Linked DNA regions of Homo sapiens: regions 1, 2, 3, 4 and 6 are each linked to region 5. Evidence: promoter capture Hi-C in 16 types of primary human blood cells and fetal thymus (Javierre and others, 2016). All regions are on one chromosome and are shown on one strand. Each heading gives the region's core, a stretch centred on a gene start or on the middle of the fragment in contact. The rest is flanking DNA. Distances are from core to core; before and after follow the strand shown.

Region 1 (2,718 bases), core at 44-2,543, 280 kb before region 5:
TCCATCAAGAGGACACAATGAGCGTAAATATATATGAACCTAACATTGGAATACTTAAATACATAAAACAAATATTAATGAACATAAAGGGTGAAACAGACAGCAATACAATAATAGTAGGAGACTTCGATATCCCACTTTCAACAACTGATAGAGCAACTGAACAGAAAATTAATAAGGAAATACTGGACTTGAATTGCACTTTTGGCCAAATGAACCTAACAGATATACAGAGAACTTTCCACCCAACAGCAGCAGAATACACATTTTTTCTCTAGTGTACATGGAACATTCTCCAGGATAGAGCATATGTTAAGCCACAAAACTAGTCTTAACAAGCTTATAAGGTCATATCTAGTATTTTTTCAGACCATAGAGGTATTAAACTAGAAATCAATAACAGAAGGAATCTTTAAAAATTCACAAGTATGTAGAAATTAAGCAACATGCTCTTGAACAATCGATGGATCAAAGAAGAAATCAAAAGGTAAATTCACAAAAATCTTGAGGCAAATAACAATGGAAACATAACACATCTGCAGCAAAAGCAGTTCTGAGAGAAGTTTATAACAACAAATGCCTGCATTAAAAAAGAAAATCCCATATAGTTTAACATTATGCCTCAAGGAACTAGAAAAAGAAGCATAAACTAAACCCAAAATTAACAGAAGGGAGGAAACAATGAAAATCAGAACCGAAATAAAACAAATAGAGAACAGAAAAACCGTAGAAAGAATAGAACTAAGAGTTGGTTTTTTGAACAAATAAATAAAATTGATAAATCATGTAAGAGATAAAGAGAAGACTCAAAAAATCAAAGTGAAGAAATTAAAACAGATGTCTTAGAAATAAAAAACAAGATTATAAGGGACTATTATGAACAAGTATATGCCAATAAATTGGATAACCTAGAAAAAATGGATAAATTCCTAGAAAAATACAACCTACCAAGATTGAGTCAGGAAGAAATAGAAGGCATGAGCCGACTAATAACAAATAAAGAGATTGAAGTAGTAATAAAAAACTGGGAGCAGTGGCTCATGCCTGTAATCCCAACACTCTGGGAGGCCAAGGCGGGCAGATCACCTGAGGTGAGGAATTTGAGACCAGCCTGGCCAACATGATGAAACCCCATCTCTACTAAAAATACAAAAATTAGCTGGGCCTGGTGGTGGGTGCCTGTAATTCCAGCTACTTAGGAGGCTGAGGCACAAGAATTGCTTGAACCTGGGAAGCGGAGTTTGCAGTGAGCCAAATGAGCCAATGCAGTGAGCCAGTGCACTACGGCCTGGACGACAGAGCAAGACTCCATCTGAAAAAAACCAAGAAACGCCGGGCACGGTTGCTCATGCCTGTAATTCCAGCACTTTGGGAAGCCAAGGCGGGTGGATTACCTGAGGTCGGGACTTCAAGACCAGTCTGATCAACATGGAGAAACCCCATCTCTACTAAAAATACAAAATTAGCCGGGGTGGTGGCGCATGCCTGTAATCCCAGCTACTCGGGAGGCTGAGGCAGGAGAATCGCTTGAACCTGGGAGGCGGAGGTTGCAGTGAGCCGAGATTGCGCCATTGCACTCCAGCCTGAGCAACAACAGCGAAACTCTGTCTCAAAAAAAAAAAAACAAAAAAACAAAAAACCAACAAAAAAACAAAAAACTGCCCAACAAAGAAAAGCCAAGCCCAGGACCAGATGGCTTCACACTGAATTCTACCAAACTTTCAAAGAAGAATTAATACCAATGCTTCTTAATACAACTCTTCCAAAAAATAAAGCTAGAGGGAGTATTTCCAAATAAACTTTATGAGGCCATCTTCACTTTGATACCTAAGTGAAAGATATCACAAGAAAAGAAAACTATAGGACAATCTCTCTGATGAATATTAATGCAAAAATTCTCAATATGATATTAGCAAGCTGAATTTAACAATACATAAAAAAGATCATACATCATGACCAAATGAGAATTATCCTAGCCATGCAAGTCTGGCTAGGATAAGTGTAACATATGCATATCAATCGATGTGATAGATTTAACAGAATGAAAGATTAAAAACCACATGATCATCTCAATTGATTTGGGAAAAGCATTCAATAAAGTCCAACATTTTTTCTTGATAAAAACTCACAATAATTTAGGTATAGAAGGAAAGGTCCTCAACATATTAAAAGCCATTTATGAAAAACCCACAGCTAACATATAATATTAGTTCCTCATATAATCAATGGGGAAATACTGAAAGCTTTTCCCCTAAGATGTAGTAAAAGACAAAGGCAAGGATGCCCAGTCTCACCACTTCTATGTAACACGGTACTAGAAGTACTACCAAGAGCAATCAGACAAGAAAAATAAGAAGCGTCCAAATTATAAAAGAAGTAAAATTATCTCTATTACAGATGACATTATCTTATTTTTAAAAACTTTAAAGATTTCACAAAAACCTATTAGAACCACTAAATGAATTGAGTTTCAGGATACAAAATGAACATACCAAAATCAGTAGCATTTTTATACACATAATGACCTAACAGAAAAAGAATGCAAGAAAACAATCCCATTTATGATAGGATGAAAAAGTAAAATAAAATCAAATACTTATGAATAAATTTAACTGACTGAGGTGTAAAAATTACACTGAAAACTGTAAAACATTCATGAAAGAAATTGAAGAAGACACAAATAAATGGAAAGCTACCCCATGCTCATGTATTAGAAAC
Region 2 (2,848 bases), core at 135-2,634, 350 kb after region 5:
AAATATTTTTCCTAACTTTCAAGATTTTTTCCTAAGTTTCAAAGGTTAGCTTGTTTGTTTCAAAGCAATTTCCAAGTAAGGTTTTTGAAAACTGTAAATATTAAAAGATTTAAAATGACAGTTTTCATATAATTTAAGGTAACAAGACTTTCTTTGACTTGCAGACTAATCCTAAAACGAATGGAAGACTTAACAAAACTGCAAAATACAGGACATTTTGTATTTCTGATCTTAATGAACTCATGTATAAAATAATAATCTTCTCATTTCCCCAATTACTACAGGATTTAAAATAAAATACCCTTAACCTATTAATTTTGGTTAGCATAGTTCTATACTGCATTTATTCTATTTTATGCACATAGTTTGGAAATGTGAAAGGTAACTAACAGTTTTAATCTACAACTGTTTTGAGACTTTTGAAATCCATAAAATAGCTAATGTTATGTGCTCTAAAAATCCTAATATTTAAAATCGTCATAACCCTCTGCATGCCACAATGACATATACCTAAGGCCAACTTAAAAAGAGAAATAATGCACTCATTAAATAACAGCAACAATGTAATGATACATGAAATGGGCTATACAATGACGTTTCATGAAGCAGCACCTGCTTGTCATAAGGCATTATGAAAGAAGATTAACCTTACTTACACATTACTTTTATCAGAAGTAAATGTGATCAGCTGCCAACATTTTGAATGGTTGGGAATCTAACTTCAGTTCAAGAGGTCACATACATTTTCAATCTGGAGGGCTAACATGCCTTCCTTGTGCAATTGGTAGACTACACGGACAGATGCTTAGAATGTCTACAATTATATTGTGCTCTAATGTTACAGAATAATTGGAATTCTTGGCAAAAGGACTTGCACACTCAAGAATGAACTTTTTTTCACACAAAAAGCTTATCAAGAACAAGACAGTGGCTCAAAAACCACTTTTCTAAATATACTTCCATACAAAATAATTTCAAGATATAATTATTAGTTTCTTGTAGAGTACGCTATTTAAACAAGAATAAAAGAGTAAGTATGTGAAAACTGCAACACCACAAAAATTGAGCCATTTTACTAGTGTAATTAAACATTAGAACAATCTTGGAACAGGCAAGCAAAATATTCAGAAGGGTGAATCATGGCGGCACAGCTAACTGATTTTTACCATGACTTGCACACTTTGAGACAACACAAATACCTTATGCAGATGGTTCAGTAGCAGAATGGCACTTGGTTTGCTCCTAATAGAAACAACATGAATGCAACTGACAATTTAGAGATAGACAATGGCCTTATTTGCATGCTGAAAATCTGGTTGTGTTCCTCTAGTCCACACACCGTTAACTGTGCAATCTGTTGACGAGTAAACAAATAGTGCAGGATTCATCTCAGTGAGGTCTGGGCCCCTTGGTCTAACCGAAATCAATTCTTGGTCGATACTGCAGTACCATAGGGTATGACTACAAAATAAAGACAGATAATAAATAAGACTGTATTTGGATAAAAACAATACAGTTTATATATGAAAGATTTTAAGAATTCGGAGTTATAATTTACAGTATTTCCTGGTACTAGTGATTACAACAGTTAAAATTTGAGTTACCATTAAAACTCTATTTCTTTTGATTGCCATTATTTTTCTAGAATCAGTCAAGTTTTCAGTAATATGCAGCAGAGGTCAAGTTCAAAGGCCTACAGACATCATACAGGTTGTATATATGACTAGTGCTAGCACAACACTTAGGAGAGGCAAGAACTGGGAAGGACTGAAAGTCACACACCCTGCTTATAGGCATTCAGTTAGTAACCCTAGGAGGCGAACAAGACAGATCAGCAGCCTGGATTCCACTAAAGCTTAGGCTGGTGAGAGCCCACTAGATCACAAATCAACAAAGAGACCCCCTCTGCTAGGAACCTGTAAAACTGGAGTAGTGTTCACAAATCATATTTCTTACAAGTTTGAAACATTTTTTAAATTTAAAATTTATTTTAATGATCCTTTAAAAATATTGAAAAAGTAGCTGATTGTTACATGAAACATTTAGGTCACTACCTCCTTTCAACAGTTGATACTAATAAACATTTGGATTTGACTATTACATAAAATAACTGAATGGTTCATATTGTTTTTCATGTCACTATGTAGAAAAGGTATCATATATCTGGCTATCATACAGAACTAGAGAGGAAACAGCTTCTTTGGGATAAAGGCATATGGCATATGCCACGCTACCTCTGTGTTTGTTTTTACCCTGTACCATATCTTATAGAACCAAAACATCAGTGGTTTTCCTTTTCTTAAAGCTGTAGATACTCTCTCTTAAAATGAAATTTGAGGAGCTACTTTTATGGAATCAAGAAGGGGCTGAGATGGTCACTGACTAATGTTTCTCCATCTTGGTATACATGAATATAAAAATACGGTATAGAGAACTTTGTATTCTTTCATATAGATAAAAGGGCTAGACTGAGATTTAACAATCCTGAAAATGACCATTTCAGTGCTTACTATAGCTATGCTACACACTGGGAAGACTCAATGTTGGAATCTGTAACCATTCAGCTCAGGATGGAACTAGAGGGCAGGAATACAAATGCCCTAGGTCTTGCTCTCCCAGGTGAAGTACAGCAGATGCTACTACAGCTGTCTAAGGGCTGGAGTAAAAGTCTCAAGACAGTCTCTCAGGGTTTCCAAGGTTTAAAACTTCTAAAACTGTTCTGGTTTTACTTGTTTTTATTTTAAACTTTATTTAGTTCCCCCTGAATCAGATTACCTGGGAGGGAGCAAGACACAGATTATCTCCATTTTACTAAACTCTGGATGTTTCTGAAGCCCAGTGAGATTCT
Region 3 (2,774 bases), core at 122-2,621, 290 kb after region 5:
CTTGACTCATTATGGCTCCCTTGGCTTTGTGATACTGTTATAGAACCAAAGTGGGGTCCACTGGCCTGGCACAGTAAGGCCAGACATCCACACTGAGGTTTGAAGTGGCAAGAAAGGAAGGTATTTATTTGCAGGGCACCAAGAAAGGAGAATTGGCAGCTAATGCTTATGTCCTGACTTCCCAATGGCTTGCAAGTAAGGGTTTTTAAAAGCAGGGGTAAATTTCAGGAAAGCAGAAGTTACAGGCAAGATCATAAATCAATACATGGAGGCTACACATGGGTTTTGGCCTGAAAGGGTGGGGGATCTTGAAGCAGGAGCTTACAGGTCATAGGCAGGTTCAAAGATTTTCTCTTTTACAATTGGTTAAGGAAGAGAAGCTTTGTTTAAAAATTTAAGGTCAGCAGAAAGAATGTTAGCTCTGGCTCATGGGTGTGACTTCCTCCAGGACACTCAGGAAGAAATTTAGAACAAAGAATGGTTATCAGAATTCAGTCCTCAGTTCTACATTATCTGAGGTCTATGTGCCAGTGTATCCATTTGTTGGAGGTCCAGGTTTCTGAAAAATAACTCGGGTACATATGTTAAGATGTTATCTTTAGTTTCTATAGGGAACCAAACATCTCGGGACTCTCAGTTCCTTGGCTATTGTTTCAGGCTACCATTACCTTCTTGTTTATCAAGCTGCTTATTCACTTTCAGGGCTAGCTAGGCATCTGGAATTTCCCTTGAAGGAGCTCAAGATTTTCCTTTATTTCCATGCTTGGGGACCCAGAGACCCCTAAAAGGGGTCCCTGCTCCATCTCAGTACCTGGATTTTCACTTCCTTGCTAAGTCAGTCAGTTATAAAAAGCAGATTCAGCTCTAGCCCACATCTGAGTAACTGAGAAATTATCATCTCCACTTGGCAAAAACGGAAGCGTGAAATGTGAGTCAGTTGTTTTATTCCACTTCCTAGTGGAGAGAGACAGTTTCTCATCCAGTGTGAATCGAGTCATTCAGGAAGAAACTCAATCCCAGAGAATTATTCAGATGGCGATTGCAGCCTGCTCCTAATTAGACACAGGCTGACTCAGGGGCCAGGGCCTGATGCGGCTGGCAAGCAGCTGTCTCACAGGCTCACTTCTTACTCAGTCTCCTGGCACCTGTGCCTCCCTCTATCAAATAAACACAATTATAATTACTCCCTATTTAAGTGCAGCACAACCTGATTTCCATGTTATTTATACTCCGCACCCCCAAAACACACACACCATCTAATGAGGAGGTGGGTTCCAGCTGCTGGAGGGCCCCTGAAGTGTGCAAGGCTGGAGGTGAACTCCCAGGCAGAGATGAACTGCTCACCAGGAACGGAACAGGGTGGCGCTACAGGAAAACAAAATTTCCAGGGGGTAAAAACAGAATAGGGAGACACAAGACCACAAGGTCAGGAAACAGGTCCAGGGCAAAGAAGAATCCAGCTTGGAGACCAGATACTTCCAAAGAGAACTGAGGATGTCAGGCTGAGATTTTGCATGGGAGTTTCCTATAGGATTTGTATAGGAGATTTTGTGTAGGAGCTTCCTATAGGATTTGTATGGGAGATTTTGTAAGATTTTGTGTAGGAGTTTTCCATAGAATTTGTATAGGAGATTTTGTAAGATTTTGTGTGGGAGTTTCCCATAGGATTTGTATGGGAGATTTTATAAGATTTTGTGTAGGAAACTCCTACACAAAATCTTGGTCAACATCTATGCAGTTCATTAATACTTTTGGTGCAGAACAGATTGTCTATTTATTTACTGGAAAGGAGAGAGATGCTGTGTCCTGCATCAAGGTTAGCAAGAGATGAAAAGAGAGGCTGAGTTACTTGTGTAGTTACAGTATTTTTTAAATGTCAATTTGCCAGCCTAATCTGTGAGCTACAATGAGGATAGGGATTGTGTCTCTTGTTAGCAGATCCCCAGTGCCTAGCACAATGTGAGCACATAATAGGTGTTCAAACAGTTATTGTGTGAATACGTTGAATGCCTCCACTTAATGGCTCCATACAACTTCTGATTCCCAACTGAACTGAAGTCTAAAATAATGTTTTTTGTCCCTTTGCCTAGGGTTCACAGGGCACATTAGAAAGCTGATGATTTGGAGCATGGTAGGAGTGGCAGCAGCAGCTTTAGGGCAATGCTTTCAGAAAGATGTTCTTCAGCCCTCAGGAAGTGGTACTGCTGGCTGACAACACAGCTGGAACCCCACATAGAGGAAATAACACGGGCCATCAAGATGCCCACTCTAACAAGGGAGACCAATCTGATTTCCATAAGTATTAAAGTCAAATGTTGCTAGGGGATTTTGCATGCTGATTCATAGAGAAAAATAAAGCTTTGCTTAAAGAATGCATACATTCTTTCTGTTTACCCTCTGGGAACATCCATTATAAAGAGAAATTGAACTCTAATTGTACTCAATTGTGACACTTAGAAAGAAATATAAAGTATATGTAGTTGCAACAACCTTCAGTCTTTTCTCTAGGCTAAATGGAACATACTAAATTGAGAAGGAGGTGCTATAGGCTTCATGGTATCCCTAGAATAAAATGGTATAAATAGTATTTTGAATCAGAAGATGTGGCTTAAAGGCCCAACTCAACCACTTACCAGCGATGTGAGTTCCAAGGCTTATTTTAATAACTGATTCTGATTTTGCTTAAGTTCTTAATTTCAATAAAAAGTATAACCTTAACTGTATAAAACCAGTAATCAAATTGCGGGAAGATTTTTTAAAAAGAGCAAGAAAAA
Region 4 (2,700 bases), core at 79-2,578, 270 kb after region 5:
ATCAAAAGAGACAAAGGCGGCCATTACACAATGGTAAAGGGATCAATTCAACAAGAAGAGCTAACTATCCTAAATATATATGCACCCAATATAGGAGCACCCAGATTCATAAAGCAAGTCCTTAGAGACCTACGAAGAGACTTAGACTCCCACACAATATTAATGGGAGACTTTAACACTCCACTGTCAACATTAGACAGATCAGTGAGACAGAAAGTTAACAAGGATACCCAGGACTTGAACTCAGCTCTGCACCAAGCAGACCTAATAGACATCTACAGAACTCTCCACCCCAAATCAACAGAATATACATTCTTCTCAGCACCACATCACACTTATTCCAAAATTGACCACATAGTTGGAAGTAAAGCACTCCTCAGCAAATGTAAAAGAACAGAAATTATAACAAACTGTCTCTCAGACCACAGCACAATCAAACTAGAACTCAGGAGTAAGAAACTCATTCAAAACAGCTCAATTACATAGAAACTGAACAAGCTGCTCCTGAATGACTACTGGGTAAATAACAAAATGAAGGCAGAAATAAAGATGTTCTTTGAAACCGATGAGAACAAAGACACAACATACCAGAATCTCTGCAACACATTTAAAGCAGTGTGTAGAGGGAAATTTATAGCACTAAATGCCCACAAGAGAAAGCAGGAAAGATCTAAAATTGACACCCTAACGTCACAATTAAAAGAACCAGAGAAGCAAGAGCAAACACATTCAAAATGTTACCACCACATTATATCAGTTACAAATATGCATCATCATGGAAATTGTGGGATTACTTTGCAAAGGAAAAAAATCAAATAAATTAAAGACAAAAAACAAAAGGTAGGAATATGAGCAGTTAATAGAGTCCTAAATAATGGAATCTCGAGGGATTAGAGCACGACTAGTTATTCCTTATGATCAGGAACACACTGAGAAAGGATATCTGTAGTCAAGCTTCTAAGTTTGTAGGAGATATTAACTTGTTTGAGGGAATGAAATGTCAACCAGTGAAGATAATCACAAGCCTCACAAGAAAATTAGCAGCAGAGTGTCAGCAAGGGTGAATGTGAAGTGGAGTGTGAAGAAATATAATGATTCAAATTTTGATTATGAGCATGAACGTTAAACTATCAGATATGCTCACAGAAGTCCTAAAGTCACCCTGACCTAGTAAATAGCTTTACTATTTACTAATGAAGGCTGGCTGGTCATCTTTGGGAAGATCTCTGGAAGCAAACTGAAAAGAATATGATCTTGCCTGGTTTCAAAACCCCGATTCATCTGTATCTAGAAAAAAGGAAACATAAATGATCATTATGACAAGAAAAATCAATAGAACTAGAGCAGGTCCAAAGAAAGGCAATTGGAAAAATCCAGCAGATGGGGAAATATCTGGACAGTTTGAAAATTGTACTCTGATTTGGATATCTCAACACTAAAAAGATATTATTTTTGTCTATGAATCTGTTAGATAAACATTAAATACGGATAATGATTTGTTTCCAAATTCCTGGAATACCAGATACCACTTGAAATGCTACTAGTAACAACAATGACAATGATGACGATGATGATGACAATGACAACAATGATGACAGCACATAATTTTGTGCTTGATAAAGAATTCATACTTAGTGAATGCCTGTTGAATGACATGGGTCATTTTTTTTCATATTTCCTAATATCTCAGAAGCTAAGCTTCCAGGACCTCCCTCAGGGAAAAAGGAAGACTTTTCTGGACCTGTTTAGACTCACTTTGTCATCGAATCAAGTCTCCCAGTGCAGTAGGCAGCCATGTACTGCAGCCCAAGACATCCCAGTCCTCTCGTGTATTTAATGGTGTAGGATGGAGTTTGTTCCTTTGGGAAATGGGAGATTCACAGTTTGGTTATTGCAATTCAGGGTTCCCAGGAAGCAGATCCTGTGATTGAGATTGACATTCAGGAGATTTTGTAGGACCTTTTGATGTCAATGCCTATGGAAGGAAGGGAAAGTAAGCAGGATTGGGCCAAGGGAGAAGGTGATCTGTATTGCAGTCTCAACAGATGACTTAGCCAACTATACAGGGAGTTATGGAGACAGAGTAAAAGTACAGAGGTGTCTCAGGAGAAACTTTATTCACCATGTTAATCAGTCATTAGATGTGAGGCCCCTTGTGAAGGAGATGTGATCTTGGTAAGGTAATTTCCTTCAGCAGAGGCAATCCCCACAAAGGGCTAAAGGTGGAGTGCCAGTAGCAGTCCCAATATCTGGGGGGTAATTGGCCCTTCGTTCTCCAAGACAGACCTTGGCAGCATATCCCACTGTCCCCCATACTGGCCTCCCTCTTGACCTCCAGTTCCCATTTCTGATTTACATGGCTGAGCAGCAAGAGGCTACTACTAAGGCTCTGTTTAGTGAAAGACAATGGTTTAGTTGCCAAGTACAAGACCAGCCCTTGGGGAAATCAAGGAGCTGACAGATCTGCCATCAGTGGTCCTGGCTTCCCTTCCCAGACTCCTTTCTCCCTTTGCAATAGTTTTTCCTTTTCCTGCTCCTCCCTTCCTTGCCCGGTGCACTTCTTCTCACCTCCCCCTACCTCTACCATATATACCTTTCCAGTGGAAATAATTGGATAATTTCATTCACCCAAACTTGTCAATGACAGGACTAGATTTGCATTTCAATTCAAAACAGAGTCTTAGGCTAAAAGAGTGAAAC
Region 5 (2,824 bases), core at 51-2,550:
ACGTTACTATCTCTGTTTTACACATGAGGAAACTGAGGTTAGAACTTGCCTAGATTCGTGTAGCTAGTAAGTGTCAATCCAAAGACCTTCCAGCTAGTTTTGGTTGAGCTAAAGGGGCTAGAAGACCTGCCATTAGTTAGATATTTCATTTCAAAAATAAAACCCAGGCATGAAGTCCCTTTCCCAGTGATATTCAGTGTGATTTTTTTCTTCACTCTAATAATTTTAACAATTCCACTGTTTGACAGTTGTTTAAAAGACATAGGAATTTTTGTATATTTTAATTGACTAATGGATAGCTCAATTAGGGGAGCAAAACTAGGATGTGGGTTTTATAAAAATAATTTAGACTTGACTTAGACATTTAATTTTACAGTTGTAAATGATGGTCTAAAAATTCTTCAAACTAATCAAAATAATGAAACTTCAGCGAAAGTGAGTGGCTCAGAAGGCCCATGAAACATACGGCGTGATTTTTTAAATTTTATTTTAACATTTTGATTTCCACACCACTGCCAAAGGACGTCAGAATTGAGTAAGGGGTTTGGGTTGACTGCTGCCTCTTGACCGGCTGTATGTGTGAAAAGGGTCATTTCACTTCCGGCTTTAGTGTTCCCCGCAGGGGAGAAAATTGAAGAATAGACAGAAATACGAAGTGTCTTTTAATTAAATGCCACCTTGGTGTTTTATGGGGCTCGTATGCTTTCCTAACAACATTTGTTAGATAAGTTGGTAATTCCCGGCAGCTGTCTACTGTGTGGTGCATCTGTGAACTCATACTAATCGAAAAGCATGCAGCCAGTTTGGGATCGCGCAGGCTAAGGTGAGGGAGAAATGCGGATACACCGGGTAATGAACGATATAAACATTTCAAATGCGATACACATTCGGTTTGAGCCACATCTTCTGTGTGCAGATTCACCCGCAGTGACCCACAAAGCTATTCCCAAGTAACAGCCGCCCCAAGCCTGAGGCACTGGCGCCCCGCCTGGGCGAGGCTGGCTGCGCTCTCTCTTGGCCGGCGCCCGCTGCATGCGGTACGTGCCTGCCCGGCCCCTAGCCCAGGGTTCCCGTTACGCGGCTGGTTCCAGCTGGCCGCGGAGTCCCAGAACCTCCCCGCGATGCCCAGATAGCTCTCTGCACGTCTCGCCCCGGGGCGATCACGTTGCCGGGGCGAGGGCTGGCGCCCCAGCTGGGCGCTGGTTGGTCGCGCCCTGGGGCTCGAGGCCCGGCGATTGGTCCCAGGGATCGGGTCACGTGCTTGGGAGCAGATAAGCGGCCTCTAGGCGCCGGGCCCTCAGTCTCTCCCAGCGACCGCCGCGGGGGCAAGGCCTGGAGCTGTGGTTCGAATTTGTGCAGGCAGCGGGTGCTGGCTTTTAGGGTCCGCCGCCTCTCTGCCTAATGAGCTGCACCAGGTAGGTTCGCTGCAACTCTGCGCGCTAGGAACACAGGGGAACGCGCAGCTGTGGGGAAGTTGGGGGGCGTTTCAGTTCTATCATCTCTGGAAATGGACACCCCAGGGGGAGGACAAGTGGACTGACTGCGTAGTTGAATCTGGCAACCGAGAGGCCTTGGAGGTGTAGAAATTTGGCTCTATTTCTTAAGCAGAGCCTATTTTAGTAATCAGCATCTTAAAGCAGAAATTATCTTAACGTGAATCAGCTTGAGTTAGGATTTTCTCATGGATGCGGCTGTTCTTTTGGTCCTGCACAAATGTCCCAAAGACTCGGGCAGCTGAAGTGGTGAGAACAGCACTCTGACATTGCTGGTTAGGTGGTTTAGCTTGGAGGAAAAAAATTACAGGACGACGTTTGCATTCATTCGTCCTTCTTATCACAGTTTGCCATAGCAAAATCTCAAGAGTTTGAGCAAACGATTACTTTTAACTCTTGTCCAGGACTTAAAGTTCCAAGGAAATCACCCAAACTAAAACTGTCTTTCTATAAATGCAAAAAGTAAAAAAAAAAAAACAAAAAAACCAAAAAAAACCTCCCATAAAACTACTTTAAATAGCTTCTCCAGACATAGCTTAGCAGAAGACTTCTCTAAAAATCCTGCCTATTAACTATTATTAGACCCACAAATATAGCTTTAGCTTTCATTTGTTTGTTCTAAGTTTGCAGATCTCCCAGAAAAACCCCAGAGCTAACACAGTAAATTCTGCGAGTGTTATTACACACTTTTGTGATAATGACCACTTGCATACATGTTTAGAGCTGCTGTGAGGAGAGTTACTAAAGCCAGACTGAGAAATGTCGTGTACAGTATACACACACCTCTTACTTGTAAGGCTAAGATAGGGAAAAAAATCTTAATACCATAAGCTTGGAAATATATGATGAGGGCTAAAGGTCAGAGAAAAGTCTTCTTTATAGATGCTTCTTGGTTTAATATTGCTGAGCATAGTCATGTTTAAAACTTTAAATGGTTTTATTGTCTTTCTACTTATAAATGTCTATTAGAAAATGCCAAAAAAGAACAAAAACGAAAATAGATAATCTATAATCCTATCACCCAGAAATAATAATTATTAAATTATTAGGAAAGGTGTATTTCCTATAGAGTTTTTCAATATTTATAAGTTTGTATATATAAAATGTATATTTTAAAACACTCCAACTTTCAGGTAATCAGTTTTTCCACTTAAATGTGGACTTGTCATGGGCATCTCTTTAGGTGAATTATCAATTATATAGTTTTTAAGTGCATATGAATTGTTGGCTTGTATTTCAGTGGTTATTTGTGAAAAATAAGAGCATGATAATCAAAGTGCAAAGATGATTCTTTGACTTCTTCTCTAGCCTTCTCACTCTCAAAACTGTTG
Region 6 (2,950 bases), core at 155-2,654, 330 kb after region 5:
TCTTCCCTCTCTCTCTCTCTGTAGACACACACACACACACACACACACACACACACACACACACTATTGGTCCCATATCTATGGAGAACCCTAATACTGAACCTTCCAGCTTCAGTCACCATAGGGAGATTGCTCAGTGTCAAGTCCAAAAAATTCTAACCAAAGGAGTCAAGAGTCAGTAGCCCACTTTGGATTGAGTGCCAGTTAGGTTGATGGGTCATGTACTATATACAGAGAGAGAGAGAGAAAGAGAGAGAGAGCTCCTGTGAGAAATACGGATGGGAAAGGTGGCAGTTTCTAGAAAAACAAGTATGTGAGTGTGGAGGAGACAATCCTATAGATCTCCATCCACTCTAACAATTAGCCTATTGTTTCCATAGTAAAATGGAATTTTATAAACATTAATGTCATAGAACCCATGATTCAACATTCAACCATTTGCAAATATTTTCCATTCTTTGCAAAAGCAATATCATTGGCAAGGCTAGCACAGGCTAGGTGTGGTTGTGATTTTCTTTTTGGTTGCTGTGCCAGAGGGACCCTTGCTTTTCAGGATTCCCAAGGATTAGAGCTTCCATGTGTCGAAGGTAAGGACAGAGTAAACAGGATGCATAATTCTTAGGCAGCATGAATGGCTGCAAAAAGGCCTTGAGGTTTCATCAGCCAGCATTTCTGAAGCATCTCCTATGCAGCAAGCATTCTGTAAGGTGATGCCCTCAGCAGTAGGCTGGTACCTCAATAAATATTTATGCAATAAATATTTGCTGAATGGAATATGTGTGTGGCATTTAGTGACCTTTGGTTCATTCTTGCTGAAGAGCCCAGCAGCTTCTCACATGCAAATGATGCCACAGTCACCCAAGCCCCTGTCACCACTGCAAACACAGACAGCTGCACCTTGGAAGATGGGAACCTGAAACATTTTCATGGGCTTACTTAGTTGATGGAGGTGATGGTGAAGGTGGGAGTGGAAGCTGTGGAGGTGTGGCAATTGAGAACACTGGGTCTCAAACTGTAGCATGTATTCAAATCACCTGGAAGGCTTGTTAAAACAGATTCCTGGGCTCTGCCCTAGTAGGTCCTTGGCAGGCCTGAGAATTTGCATTTCTAACAAGTTCCCAGGTAATACTGATGCTGCCGGCTGACTTTGAGAACCACAGAGCTATCAGAGTGGCCCTTCTCAAGCCTGGCTACACATTAAAAATCACCTGGTAGCCCCCTCCCCACTACCCTAGCAGAGACCAACTAGATGAGAATCTCTGGGAATTGGTCTGAGGTTATGTCTCAGCTCTACAGGTGATTCCAATGTGCATCCAGAGGCCATAATCAGTGCCTTACATCAACCAAGACAAATGTAAACATGATAGGGCAGAGAGAAGGCCCTTGGAGAGAGCCTTAGACACATGAAGTATAAGCTAAAATTCTTCTATGTCAGTTAGTTTGATTAGTACTGACTGCCAAATAGCAAAAGAAGCCCCCACAGATCCATGGGGTGGGGGGAGGCTCAGTACTTTTAAGATTTGTGAAGGGGTCCCAAGAACAAAACAATTGAGAACTAGCATTATTAGCTCTATGGTGAACAATAGGACCCTCAGGAAGTGCCAGACCTGGGAGGGAACTTGGGTACCCTACAACCGGGCTCTCATTTTACAGATGAGAAAACTGAGGCTCGGCTCTCTAGCGGTTTGCCGGCAGGTCACCCAAGGGGCAATGACAGAGCCAGCCCTGGGCTCTGATGGCAGCTTCTGTGCTTCCTGATTCCCATCCCTGGGATTGAGACCGGGACAACGCTTTTCCATAGGTGTTCCTAGATTAGCAGAGGATGCTGGGAACAGCTTTCTGTGGCTCATTCTTGCATAGAAAGAAAACCCTCCTAAAGGTTTTGGAATCTCGCCCTTCATGTTCACTGTGCTCACACAAAGCTCTTCTTTTCAGAAGCAGTTCTTTTCTCAGAACACTTCAAATGTAACAAATATACATCCATCAGCGTGGAGCGGCAATCAGCTCACTCACTATTCATTCGAGTTGGTGACCCAGGGCCTCCGCGCCCTGGAAACGCTCCACGGGGACACCGCGCCGTGCCAGAGAAGCTGGCCTCCAAACAACCCGCTGTAAACAGCTTTGCAGAGATCTTCCTCTGGAGGGCACAGATCCCTGGGATTGCTAGGATGAGGTTTCTCATTCTTTCCGAAGTAAAGGGAACTGGCAAAGTTAAAGCAGGAATGAAAGAGCTTTGATCTTATGAGGCGGAGGTGCTTATCCCAGCTGGGGTTAACAAGGAGGACATTCAAGCACTGCGAGCGGTCCACTCCTCGTTCTTGCATGCCCCAGCCCTGAAGGAAGTGGGTTGCAGCTCTCGTTACCCATCCTCCAGGTGGATCCTCTTCCTTCTGCCCGCCCTCAAAAGGCAAAGAACCACTGCGGGCTGATGGCGCCCTCTGGAGGCCGTGATGGGAAACTGTGTGCCTCAATTTTGCAGCCACGGCTGCCTTCCCCTCCCCCACTTTCCAGGGGCTCCTGCCCAGGTCGGGCTTCCCAAGGTCTCTTCCTCAGTACATTACACATACTCCTTCTTATGTGTGAGCACATAGATAGCAAAGCACCCAGAGGCACGCATACCCTTCTTTAACCCCCCGGTTCATCTCAAGTCTTACCTGTCAGTTATCTCACGTTAAAAAAAAAAAAAAAAAACAATTCCACCTCCCTCTTTTCATTCCATTTGTGTTGCCCAGAGTTTAATCACATCTGACAAGACTCACAGGGGTGTTAGTGAAAGAACTCTACCAAGGGAAAGAAACACCACCTGCAATGAAGTAAAACTGAGTGCAGTCAACAGATGTAATCCTGTAGGGCCTGGTGGGGCTGCCAGGCTCCCAGGTAGAGGAAACCACCATCGCAGTTTGCAGAAGACTAGTGGAGCTCCCGGGTCATGAGATTATTAAGTGCTAAA

What was found. The method cuts DNA at HindIII sites, captures the fragments that hold promoters and counts their contacts. A CHiCAGO score of 5 or more calls a contact.
Region 1: a contact is called between a fragment that was not itself captured here and the fragment with the promoter of PPP1R3C in region 5, in 1 of 17 cell types (endothelial precursors). The highest score is 6.3, in endothelial precursors.
Region 2: a fragment that was not itself captured here is called in contact with the fragment with the promoter of PPP1R3C in region 5 in 2 of 17 cell types (non-activated CD4 T cells and naive CD4 T cells); the score reaches 5.4 in non-activated CD4 T cells.
Region 3: a fragment that was not itself captured here is called in contact with the fragment with the promoter of PPP1R3C in region 5 in 2 of 17 cell types (endothelial precursors and naive CD8 T cells); the score reaches 6.5 in endothelial precursors.
Region 4: a contact is called between a fragment that was not itself captured here and the fragment with the promoter of PPP1R3C in region 5, in 2 of 17 cell types (endothelial precursors and megakaryocytes). The highest score is 6.3, in endothelial precursors.
Region 6: a fragment that was not itself captured here is called in contact with the fragment with the promoter of PPP1R3C in region 5 in 15 of 17 cell types (total CD8 T cells, naive CD8 T cells, megakaryocytes and 12 more); the score reaches 29.9 in total CD8 T cells.

Annotation. Positions count from the first base shown.
Region 1 is chr10:91,915,048-91,917,765 of GRCh38, reverse strand. No RefSeq gene overlaps it. Among named protein-coding and RNA genes, the nearest start is that of FGFBP3, 6.9 kb to the right of the region's middle. The HindIII fragment of the contact is 1,904 bases long and covers 342-2,245 here.
Region 2 is chr10:91,276,882-91,279,729 of GRCh38, reverse strand. PCGF5 (polycomb group ring finger 5) reads right to left here. Exons shown (of 10, transcript NM_032373.5): 10 at 1-1,461. The coding sequence ends at 1,414. Among named protein-coding and RNA genes, the nearest start is that of PCGF5, 58 kb to the right of the region's middle. The HindIII fragment of the contact is 946 bases long and covers 912-1,857 here.
Region 3 is chr10:91,339,380-91,342,153 of GRCh38, reverse strand. All of the region lies in intron 4 of HECTD2-AS1 (HECTD2 antisense RNA 1), which reads left to right. Among named protein-coding and RNA genes, the nearest start is that of HECTD2, 70 kb to the left of the region's middle. The HindIII fragment of the contact is 1,978 bases long and covers 383-2,360 here.
Region 4 is chr10:91,359,562-91,362,261 of GRCh38, reverse strand. The region is part of intron 3 of HECTD2-AS1 (HECTD2 antisense RNA 1); the gene reads left to right. Among named protein-coding and RNA genes, the nearest start is that of HECTD2, 49 kb to the left of the region's middle. The HindIII fragment of the contact is 744 bases long and covers 957-1,700 here.
Region 5 is chr10:91,631,547-91,634,370 of GRCh38, reverse strand. It overlaps PPP1R3C (protein phosphatase 1 regulatory subunit 3C), which reads left to right and starts at 1,300. Exons shown (of 2, transcript NM_005398.7): 1 at 1,300-1,415. The coding sequence starts at 1,402. RefSeq lists enhancers at 668-1,167, 1,168-1,669 and a silencer at 1,194-1,333. The HindIII fragment of the contact is 3,050 bases long and covers 1-2,326 here.
Region 6 is chr10:91,297,918-91,300,867 of GRCh38, reverse strand. No RefSeq gene overlaps it. Among named protein-coding and RNA genes, the nearest start is that of PCGF5, 79 kb to the right of the region's middle. The HindIII fragment of the contact is 3,876 bases long and covers 1-2,950 here.